Linked DNA regions of Homo sapiens: region 2 is linked to region 1. Evidence: promoter capture Hi-C in 16 types of primary human blood cells and fetal thymus (Javierre and others, 2016). All regions are on one chromosome and are shown on one strand. Each heading gives the region's core, a stretch centred on a gene start or on the middle of the fragment in contact. The rest is flanking DNA. Distances are from core to core; before and after follow the strand shown. Region 1 holds the start of HERC1 (HECT and RLD domain containing E3 ubiquitin protein ligase family member 1). Region 2 overlaps DAPK2 (death associated protein kinase 2).

Region 1 (5,922 bases), core at 1,808-4,307:
TGAGACTAGGCTCAGAAAGACTGTGTAATGGCAGGGCAACTAGGCTGCAATTTCTGGAGCTACCAGAACTCATGTCCATGGATTCCTGCTCTGGAGCTCTTTTCTGTTTTCAGAGTGATATATTTCCTGAGCCAAGTGCCAAGGGCAACACAAACTTACTCCCAGTGTCTGTTTACCCCTGCTGCTCTGCCTCCACACTTTACTGCTCTGCTGGATTTCTTCACTTCAAACTTAGCCCTGATTTTTATCTAGGAGTTGCACATTTCCTAAATGCAGATGAAAGATGAAAAATATATATTCTACTGTTGATTCTCCAGTTCCTTTGCCTGGGACCTCCCAGCTGTGGTGTGGTGCTGTGAAGTATGAGGCATGAAGTGGGGGTGACATACGTGAGGGGAGGAAGATGTGGCTGACTGGTATGGCCAGGGTATGCTGCTCAGAGGGCTATCAGACCAAGGGCTTGTGATGCTTAGGACTTGGCTGTGGCTCTGAGATCCCTCCATCCACTCTTCCCATCTCCAACATTTTTCTTTAGGGAAATCTGAATAAAATGAACTGGTAGAGTTGGGAGGTTAATGCTGACAACAAGGTTCCAGGATATGCTGATTTGAGTATGAAACAGTGTTTTAAGCATGGTGCGGTGGCTCACGCCTGTAATCCCAGCACTTTGGGAGGCCGAGGCAGGCAGATCATTTGAGGTCAGGAGTTCGAGAGCAGCCTGGGCAACATGGTGAAACCCTGTCTCTACTAAAATATAAAAAAATTAGCCGGGCATGGTGCAGCACACCTGTAATCCCAGCTACTAGGAAGACTGAGGCAGGAGGATCGCTTGAACCCGGGAGACAGAGGTTGAAGTGAGCCAAGATCACGCCACTGCACTCTAGCCTAAGCAGCAGAGTGAGACTCCACCTCAAAAAGAAAAAAGAAAGAAAGAAAAAAACAGTGTTTTGGGAAAGAGTGGTGTGGTCAAGGTGAGGGTGGCTAGTAGTCAGGGCTCACTTGCTGACACTAACAGTATTTGCTAATTGTATGCAACTGAACACAGTTGTATTCAATTCTCTTTTACACACAGCTCTGAGGGTGGAAGCTAAGGAGATGGTAAAAGAGGGAGTCTCTTGATTGGTCTTTAAAGTAAGCAGTCCTTTTCTTGAAATAGAATGGGCAAAACCAGGCTGGGCACGGTGGCTCACCCCTGTAATCCCAGCACTTTGGGAGGCCAAGGCGGTCGGATCACAAGGTCAGGAGTTCGAGACCAGCCTGGCCAATATGGTGGAACCCCATCTCTACTAAAAATACAAAAATTAGCCAGGCATGGTGGCACACACCTGTAATCCCACCTACTTGGGAGGCTGAGGCAGGAGAATCGCTTAAACCTGGGAGGCGGAGGTTGCAGTGAGCCAAGATGGTGCCATTGCACTCTAGCCTGGGCAACAAGAGCAAAACTCCATCTCAAAAAAAAGAAAAAGAAAAAGTGGGCAAAACCAGTACAATTTTACAAATTCAAGAAAGACAGAATATCATATTTGTGAGTGACGTAGATGACATCAACAAGTTAAAAGGAGGAGCTTTTGCTTGTTGTTTTTGAGTATGCTTCACACACAATACCCAGATCATAAAGCACTAGCAACAATGACATCACTCCTCATGTAGCTACTCCCTTACATCATTTACCAGAAATACACATTTTATACATAGAAACTTAAAAGCTACACACCTAAGACCCATCATTTAATGAGTACTTAATATGTGCCGTATGTGAGCTTTACATATATTTTACTCCTCAGAGGAACCTTGTGATAACAAGAACTGGCATTATAAATTGACACATAAGGAACTGAGGTTCAGAGAGGTCAAGCAACTTGCCCAAGGTCACACACCTGGGGTAAGTGGGATTCCAGAATTCCCACCAGTGTCTGACAGTGAAGCACATGGCTCCTAACTCTTGGACTAAACTGCCTCATGTGACACACAAACATGTATCTAATTTAACCATGGGAAAGCACTCCCTCGTCTGTCTATACCGTAATTTCTTACATTAGTGACACATTCATGGCTTGTATGTTTGTGTGCTTCTCCTACGCCTCCAATTGGATTGCAAACTTCTGGAACGCAGAGGCCAACTCTATTTTTTGTCCCCAAGTCATCGGTCAGTTTAATTGATGCTCGTTAGAATATCTGGAAGGAAAGACACCATGAAGGTGGCTGGAAAGGAGTAAAACCAGGTACAGAAGGAGGAAGATGGAGATGGGGTATTCACTCAACAATTTAATGTCCACTTGGACCTATGTTAGGCGCTGGAGATATGGTGAGGACTGAGCCAGTCTGTGTCCTTCCCCTCATGGGGTTTCACGTGGAGGTCGAGGTCATGATCAAGGATGTAAGTCACCCAAAGGACACTACTGTGTTCCCAAGCAGAAAAGAAAACCGAGGAGCCAGGCCCTGGCATCTGCAGGGTTCTGGCAGTCCCATAAGGCGCAAAGACATGAACAAGGTGGAAGAGTAGGTCAAGTGAAACGCTTTTATGTGATTGAACTTAGCCGGCCGGAGGGCCGGGGCCGCTGCGATGAGAGATAAAGAGCGTGGGGCGCCGGGTGCGAGGCGGAGATAAAGGGGTGAGGCCCTGGCCCTGCCGCCGGCCGTAACACGTGTCCCTTCGCCTGGCGGCGGGGTCTTCCCTGCCCACCACGAGGAAAAGGGGGCGCACTGCATGGCCCCCCACTCCTCACCACCCTTTGTGAAACGCCCCCAATTGTGCTTCATCTGTGGAGTCAGGTCCCCGCAGGCGGTCGGGGCTGCCCGGATTCCGCGACGGCTGAAGGGTGAGGGCCGCGCGGTAGCAAAGTGTCCCCAGCACCTAGCTTGGCTCCCCTCGCTCCCAAATCCCTTTCCCCTTTTCGCTCAACCCCCAACTCCACCTCAGCCGCCTTCCTCTCGGTTCCCCTTTCACCTCCCGCGCTGGGCCTGTTGGGCGGGGCGAGGGCTCCCGGCTGCGCGAGAGTTCCGCCCAAATCTCGTGAGACTCGCCTGACGCCGCCGCTGCTGCCGCCGCCTCTTACGTCTTTCCCTTTGACAAGTCGCTGCTGCTGCAGCAAAAATAAAGGACGCGACCGCCGCAGCCTCTGCGGAGCCGGGCTCGGGTCGCCGGAGCCGCGCCCCACCCCGCCAGCTCCAGAGCCACGTACGGTAACGCATCATCTACCGTCCTCCTGGTCCTGTGTGTGTGTGTGTGTGTGTGTGTGTGTGTGTGTGTGCGCGCGCGCGTGTGTGCTTTGCCGGCCGCGCAGGGCCGGCCGGGGCCGTTTCGGGACTGCAGCCGAGCGGGGCTGCTGGGGTCCCGGGTGGGCGGCAGGCGAGCTGGGGGAGCCCTCCTGGCGCGCCGCGGATCCCCCGGGTCCCCGGCTCTAGAGGCCTCCTGCCGCCCGGGCGCCTCGGAGCAGCGTAGAAGCCGAGGCGCCCGCGGAGAGGGCCGAGAGACCCGCCCCTCCAGCGGCTTACAACGTCTGTGCCCCGGCCCCGCTGTGGTCGCGTCTCTTTCTGCTTCATTCCTTTATCTGCTGACCAGCTCCTCTGCCCCGGCTGGGGCTCGGTCCGCGGGCGGCGGCCGACTCCCTCTCAGGGTCCGGGGAGTGCCGCGACCCCGGTGTCCCCAGGCGCCGGCCGCCTTTAGCGGGGTGGAGGCTGGGACGACGTGTCTTCCTCCTCTCCTCTGCCTTTGGGTGAGGGCAGCTCATCATCTGCTAAACCTTTCTCCAAATCTCCCGCCCCAATAAAACAACAAATTATAAAGCCTTTGCAACCGGGAGGCGAGGCGGGGCGCATTGTTTAGTCTTAAGCGTGAGATGAGGATGATGATGGTGATGACAGGAGCTACCCCGGGGAACATGGTGAAATCTGTTCTGTGATGGGTGGCAGGTTACTGGGAGACACGAGGAGGACAGGAGCTTGTACCACCTCTCCCAGGAGGTTATGTAAAAGACATGTTATCTTAGAGAGCTGTGAAACACAGGGACAGATTTGTCTTAGTTTAAGAAATGTCTATAATACTTAGAATATAGAGATAATTAAATGATGGGAATAACAAATCTGAACAAACTAACCCATCTTTGTAATTCCATCTCCAGAGGTGGCATTTCATGGTTAACATTTTATTGTATTTCCTAACAGACACATTTTTTTTTATCCTTGCTTGGGACTTCCTCATTCTATATTTGTTCCAAAAATGATTTATTTTATTTGAATCAGTTCTCTGGCCTGCTTGATTAAAACTGGCTGCTAGTTCATTATCACTGGCTGAACTCTGCCATCACTATCTTTTTCACTGGGCCCTTTTCCAAAATGATTGTTAGCTAAGTGGTTTGAAAAATCAAACGTTAAAACATTGTCTGTTTGGGTCTAGTACCTATGTATATATTATATTTTTACAATTCTGTTAGTGGTGGTTGCTCAAAATGGGGCAGTATTTGTAGAAGGGAAAGAAACTATGATTATTCATAGTGGGAAGAAACCTATTTACCTCAGGTTTTATGAAATTGATTTCTACTGGATATTTTTAGACCAAAATTGTTCTGTGACATTGTTTCATAGTGCCTGTTGTGATTAGTGTGGGATGAGTATGTCTCTTTGATATATGTGTTTCCATAGCCTGCGTTTATACAAGCAAAATTGAATGTCCTAGGTGCCTGTCTTATGCATAAATGTACGTATATATGTATAGAGACACACACACACACACACGTATTCTGCACCTATACACATTTATATATCTTGGAAGTGAGTTAAGATGTATTGCTATATTATTTGAGAAAAGATAGCATTAGGAAGGGCAAAGAACAGTCATAATATTTCCCCCAAATCACATGACAAGGTTGTATGGCAGAATGAGATATCTAGGGAGGTTGGAAATCTGGAGCCTTTTAAAAATAGGATAGATTGTCATCTGGGGTTGTTGTTATTGGAATGGATTAAATGGCCTATTAAGGCCTCTTGTAATTCTAAACTTTTATGAATTTTGCGTTCCCTAAGGTTCTTATCATTTTGCTTCTTAAATTTCCAGTCATGCTGTTTGCATGTGACACATCCATTCATTTGCTGGTCATGTATTCCATTTCCAATGCAGGCACCCTGATGTTGCATGGAAGAGAAAGCAAATGTAAATGCGTCACTTAATCTGCTTATTAATATAAACATCTCTTGAAAATCTCAATTTAAAGAAATTTTGGAGAATGTGTTGGTGATTGGACTGGATTGGGTTAGTAGAGGGTGCAAATAATAAATAGTAATAACAATTCCAACGTTCCAAGCATGTTTTCCCCCAAAAAAGTCATACTGAATACTCCCTAATATTTGAAATAGAAAAAAAAGGGGGCTGGGTATATTGAAGGAGCTGACCTTTTAAAATTTTTAAAATTCAGATTTTCAGATCTTAAAATGATGATAATGATGACATCGTGGCTTGGAGAGTGAGAAGGTTGTGTTAGGATAAAAAGAAACTTGTGAAACAAAACTTGAATGTTATAGTTGGATAACTATATAATAGCAAGTAACAAACTTACTATAATCTGTTGAAGCTATTTTTAAAAATTGTAAATAGAACTTTTGGCCAGATTACAGTAGCTCACGCCTGTAATCTCAGCCCTTGGGGAGGCCGAGGTGGGAGGATGGCTTGAGCCCAGGAGTTTAAGATCAGTCTGGGCAACATGGTGAAACCTTGTCTCTATGGTAAATACAAAAATTTGCTGGACGTGGTGGTGCATACCTGCAATTCCTGCTATTAGGGAGGCTGAGATGGGAGGATCAATTGAGCCTGGGAGATTGAGGCTGCAGTGAGCTGTGATTGCACCACTCTACTCCAGCCTGGGAGACACAGTGAGACTCTATCTCAAAAGCAAAATAAAACAAAACAAACAACAACAAAGGTCTACA
Region 2 (5,922 bases), core at 2,301-4,800, 81 kb before region 1:
GATTCTGCAGCTGTGGGAGCCTGGCAGTGAAGGGATGGAGCAGAGGAATAATGGCAGAAAGAGCTGGAGTCTCCCCCATGGGCCCCCTCCCCTCCCTTACAGGTGATCATGAAGATGGTGGCTTCCTACCTCACTCCATCACGCAGCACAGGTGGCCCGGCCCTTGCTGGAGGTGGCTGTGTGCCCAGCTGTCACCCCTACTGTCAATCTTCTGTAAATGTCTGTGGGACTGGATGCCTTTTTTCCTTGGTCCGTGAAATTCCTGACCCAGCAGTGGGCATGTTCACGTTGCAAAAGGGTCCAGTCCCGTTGAACAAACACTGATTGTGCTCTGGCTCAGGGGGAGGTGACAGACAAGGACAAGATAACCTCAAATAAAAGATTCAGTGTCTGGGGCAGATGGGGACCCAGCCAACTAGATTGGAAAAGCTATGGTGAGTGATAAAATAGAGCTTCCTCATCTCCTAGAAATCAAAGGAGAGAGGAATTCTGATTGAGAAAGGGTAAGAGGGTTGCAGAGAAGAGAGGCCTTCCCAGGGACGCCGTCCCCACCAGTGACCGCCCTCCTCCACTCCCAAGCTGTGTCCCTTGAGGAAGGCATGAGTAAAATCTGGAAGGGGGGTGGGGCTGAGCCAAGATTGGGGTTAGGAACTTGGAACAGTTGAATGGAGATTAAAGAGAGGGAGATTACACAGATTTAAAAGAGTGTTTTAAACTTTTTGTTATGGTCCCCTCAGCAGGAAAATTGCCAAAACTTGCACAGAAGTATAAGGAATGGGATAGTGGATTCCAGGACCTATGACCCCGCTCCAGCAGGAATCAAGTCATGCGGGTCCTCTTTCATTCATCTCTCCCATTACTTTTCTTCTGGGGTATTTTAAAGCAAATTTCAGACTTATTTAACTCATAAGTTCTCCAGCATAAATCTCTGCTAAGGATTTTCTTCTTCTTTTTTTCTTTTTTTTTTTTTGAGACAGAGTTTCACTCTCGTTGCCCAGGCTGGAGTGCAATGGCGCGATCTTGGCTCACTGCAACCTCCATCTTCCAGGTTCAAGCAATTCTCCTGCCTCAGCCTCCTGAGTAGCTGAGATTACAGGCACCCACCACCACACCCAACTAGTTTTTGTATTTTTAGTAGAGATGGGGTTTCATCATGTTGGCCAGGCTAGTCTTGAACTCCTGACCTCAGGTGATCTGCCTGCCTCGGCCTCCCGAAGTGCTGAGATTACAGGCATGAGCCACCGCACCCAGCCAGGACTTTCTTTTTAATACAACCCCATGCCATTATCACACTTGACAAAATCAGCAATAATTCCTTCATCTCATCTGGATTCCCATTCCATCCTCACATGTCCCCACCACTCCCAACAGTGTCCCATTACAGCTGGTTTGTTCAAATCAGGATCCAAACAGTCCACATGTGGCATTTGGTTGCTACGTCTCTCAAGTCTCTTGGGTTTTATAACAGTACAAAAGGAAGAACCTTTGAAGCTTTTCCTGGGGACAAAAAATTGCTCAGAAAACTGATGGTCCCATAGAAGAATAAAAAACAGAGCGTATCCATGTCAAGACCTAACTCAGAAATGTGAGACCAGGCCAAGCAAGGAAAGGAATGTTTCTGCCTCCTTCCACTGGCTTGTTCACTGTAGGGGGCAGCCTTCAGGCTCACAGCCTTTCTGCAGCTGTCCCTCCCACTTAGGAGGAGGCAGAGCCTCAAGCCTCCCACAAGCCCCATGTGCTCCTTTCCTGGGAAAACAGGTGGGTGAAGGCAGCAGAGCCCAGGCTTCAGCCATCAAAACATCCAGCGAAGGGGAGGGGTGGAGGGGTGCCACCTATAAAACTCCATTGAGGGAAGGGCAGCGGGGAGGGGTCCTGGGCAGGAGAGAAGTGGGTGTGAGAGTGCCCTGGCTTTCACTGGAGTAAGGGGCTGGAGAGATGGCACAGATGGGGGTTGGAGGTGCAATCTGCTTGCAGTTCCTAAAGAAGACCTAGTATCTAGAGAAAATCGTTGTGTGGGGGGTGGAGTTGGGGGAGTCGCCTCTTCAGTAAAGCCAGGATTCCTTTTTCATGCCTTAGCAGCGGCTGCTGCTTCCTGCCCCTGCCTGTGGATGTTGGTACTGACCTGGCACACCCCACTGGACTTTTTCAAAGGCATTTGCAGCTGCATAAACAAAACTTGACTACCCCACAGTTTTCTGTCTTCTTGCTTCCCTTTTGGACATTTTTCCAAGACACCAAACACACTCCTAGGAGCCTGGTCAGAATCACCCAGGGCTCCCTGGTATCACGGATGGACCACAAGGCCAGAAGGCGGGCACTTTCTGTTTGCAGGGAGGGGCGGGTCAGGAGAAGGCAGGACACAGTTCCATCTCCCCCTCACACCCCAAGTCGAATCAAAAGTGTTTGTGCCACATTCCCTCTGGGAACAATTTTGCTGCAGAATTTTCACCTCTGCTGCAGAATTTACATCTTTCCAGGCTGAGATGTCAGCATCAGCGTTTGGTGGGGCTCTTAACAACCAGGAAGGCCCATTGATTAGGAAAGGCCAGCCTGACAGAATGATAGCCCCATGCTGCCTCCTCAGGGTTGGTGGTGTTGTGTGTAGCTATAAACAGGGCCCTCAAAAGAATTGCATCACCTCCCATTAATAGCCTCTGGGAATGATCTCACCTGACATTTTAGCTGGGCCCCTCTGCTCAGTGGCTGGCACTGCTGGGCCAGGAGGAGGGTGGGATTCTCATTAACGAGATTCCCCACACCTGCAAGTTGACCTTCCAGCCATGGGCTTAGCTCTTCCTCCCCTGGGTGAGGGTGCCAATCAGTAAGTGGGCAAAAAGAAATCTCTTCTCCCCCAGAGTCTACTAATCCCATCTGAGCAAACTCTCCTTGTGAGGTGCAGGTGCCCCTGTGAGGGTTAGGCTCAAAGGTCATTCATGCCCAGGGGAATTGCAGACATCAGTGAAGTTAGACTTAGAAATGGTTGATGGGTTGGGGAGGGTGCTAAGCACCTTGGAAACGAGATTCTAGGAGCTTGGAGGTGCAAGGGAGAGAGGACTAACAAAAAACAAGCAGTCAGCCCTCCCTACCTGCAAGTTCCACATCCTCAGATTCAGTCAACCACAGATCAGAAATACGCAAAAAGTAAAAATAAAAATAACATTACAATAATAAATGCAAATAATACAGTGTGACAACTATTTACATAGCATTTATATCATATTTGCTATTATAAGTAATCTAGAGATGATTTAAAGCATTAGGGGAGGGTATGTGTAGGTTATATGCAAATACCACACCATTTTATAATAAGGGACTTGAGCATCCATGGATTTTGGTATCTGCGGCAGTCCTAGAACCAACCCTTCAAGGATACTGAGGACTGAATGTGAATAAATACAGAATAGAATATTGGGTAGCACCACGTGTAATGAAGATTTAGTGCCCCGGCATAGTGAATCATGGGGGAAGTTGGCTTGCTACTTTATATAGGGTGGTCAAGGAAGGCTTCCCTTAGGAGATAACATTTGAGCAAAGACTTGAACAAGGTGATAAAGTGAGTATAGGAGAGAGCAAGGGCAAAGACCCGGAGACTTTGGATTCACAGACCAGCAAGTGGACCTGTGCGATGGGAGCCAAATGGACAGGAAGCAGAGAGGTAGAAAATCAGGGTGGAGGGTACAGGCCTTGAGGGTCTCCATGAGCTCGTGGGGATGTATAGAGGGCACAGGGAAGCCACTGGAAGGCTTGGAGAAGGGAAAAGGCAAGGTCTTCAGCACAGATTGGTCACCCTCCATCCACTTTTGTGCCTCCCTTCCAGGGGGGGACTAGACCCAGGGCTGGGCTTGCAGGTGCACAGAGTGGGTGACAGACAGTTAAAGACAGGATCTAGAGGGCTGGACATGGCCTGCTGGTTCCTCCGGCAGCCTTGTCCTTTTCTCTTCCCATTCCTTGTCTTTCTCCTTCCCCTCCTCTCTTTCCTTCTGTACTCTTTGGCCCAAAAGCACTGTGCTTCAGTTTCGGAGGGTGAATAGCCCCAGGTTTTCTCATCTCCCATCCACTTCCAGGTTGCATGCACTCCCCCTCCAGCTTTGGGTCACCCCACCCCCCGCCCCGGAGCTGTACATCCTACTGACTCCTGGGCAGAGCCATGGGGAACCTTTGTGCCCTGACACCCTTTCAAGGTGGTGTGACTGGGCTGACCAGGTGACCTGGGCCCCTCATCAGTGGGAGTGAGTAGGTCCCAGGTCCTGGGATTTCATTCCAACTTATCTCTCCAACAGCTCAGGGAAATGACTTAACCATACAACTATTAAGCACTCACTGTTGTAGGTCCCGGGTTGGGAGGAGAGTAGGGCAGGGCATTGACATAGACAGGAAGAAAGTCTGTGCCCTCCAGTCATTTTCCAGGAGTGGGGTGATTCCTCTGCAAGGCTGGTTCTGAGAGGTGCTGGACTTCATAAAGGAGCATACATGTGCCTTGTTCATGTCAGGGAGGGAGACATGATTTTCTGGAATTTGTCTTGGAGGAGATCATGTCTGAATTGGGCTTTGAAATACTTGAAGGCCTTCCAGGGGGATGGGCAGCAGGGGCTGCCATGGGATGGACCTCCTGCCAGAGGCTGCCAGCTCCAGAGCAGCGTGGCCAGCAGTGTGCACTGGCTTTCTTCCGGTCCCTGATGCCATGATGAAAAATCAAGCGTGGAGGTGTGCTCCGAGCATGGTTAGGAGACAAGACCCACGCCTGGGAATCAATAGGCTCCCTCGCTTAGCATTCACCAGGTGAATGAGGCATTGCGGCAGGAAGGCTGTCAGAGCAGAGAGAAAACCAGAGCTGCCCGGGACCTTTGGAATCATTCTAGGCAGTTCATTTTCTTGAGGTCATGGGGGCCTTTGAGAATCGATAAAAGCTATTGACTCTCCTCCAAAGAAATGCATGTCTGTACATACATACTAAATTTTAAAAATTGAGTTATAATTTATATATCATAAAATTCACCATTTTAAAATGTACAGTTCAGTGGTTTTTAGTATACTCACAAGGTTGTGTAACCACATCACTATCTAATTCCAGAACATTTACATTACCCCAGGAAGAAATGTCATACCCTTTAGTAGCCATTCCCTGTTTTCCCCTTTCCCTAGCCCCTGGCAGCTACCCATCTGCTTTGTTTCTACGGATATGTCTGTTCTGGACATTTTATATAAATTGAATCATACAGCAGGTAGCCTTTTGTGTCTGGCTTTTTTCATTTAACATAATGTTTTTAAGGTTCATCCGTGTTGTAAAATGTATTGGACTCAATTTTTTATGAATAGTATTTCTGACTAATATTCCTTTGTATGGATATATAGGCACATTTTGTTCACAGAACCCCTGAAACCTATCTCTTGATTTCACAAAACCTTATTTTACAAAAGGGGGGTGTTGAAAAGGGAATGGAGAACGCAGGAAAGCTCACAATAACTTATTACTATTTATTGAGTGGTGCTGGGCTAAGCACTTTATATATGCATGATCATATAATCCTTAACAACCCTGTGACATGATATTATTATCCCCATATTACAGATGGGGAAACTGAGGCTCAGAGAAGCCATCCCAAGCTTCTTGGAGAAGTCAAAATTTAAGCTGAGCTCTGACTGCCAGGCTGTGAAAAGCAACTGCACATCCTGTTGCCTCTTGACTTTCATCAAAGCCCTTATTTCCTTCCATTTATTTTTTAATGGAGTATGAATTCCCCGTCTACCAACAAGGCATTTGTTTTGCCAAGCCCAGAATCACCCCAGTGCCCAGAGGGCATCCCAGACTGCTGTAAAATGACCCTCTCCCCAAAGTGATGTGCGATTGGAGGGCCTGCCTCCTGCTATTCCCCTTCAGGAGCTGCTGAGCCTCCAGCCAAGGCTGTGTGTGTGTCAGGCTGT

The links. The method cuts DNA at HindIII sites, captures the fragments that hold promoters and counts their contacts. A CHiCAGO score of 5 or more calls a contact.
Region 2: a fragment that was not itself captured here is called in contact with the fragment with the promoter of HERC1 in region 1 in 1 of 17 cell types (megakaryocytes); the score reaches 5.2 in megakaryocytes.

What each region holds. Positions count from the first base shown.
Region 1 is chr15:63,831,083-63,837,004 of GRCh38, reverse strand. HERC1 (HECT and RLD domain containing E3 ubiquitin protein ligase family member 1) reads left to right here and starts at 3,057. Exons shown (of 78, transcript NM_003922.4): 1 at 3,057-3,178. RefSeq lists enhancers at 2,869-2,998, 2,172-3,035, 3,036-3,901 and a silencer at 3,239-3,668. The HindIII fragment of the contact is 17,710 bases long and covers 1-5,922 here.
Region 2 is chr15:63,912,412-63,918,333 of GRCh38, reverse strand. All of the region lies in intron 9 of DAPK2 (death associated protein kinase 2), which reads left to right. Among named protein-coding and RNA genes, the nearest start is that of MIR422A, 44 kb to the right of the region's middle. The HindIII fragment of the contact is 4,113 bases long and covers 1,494-5,606 here.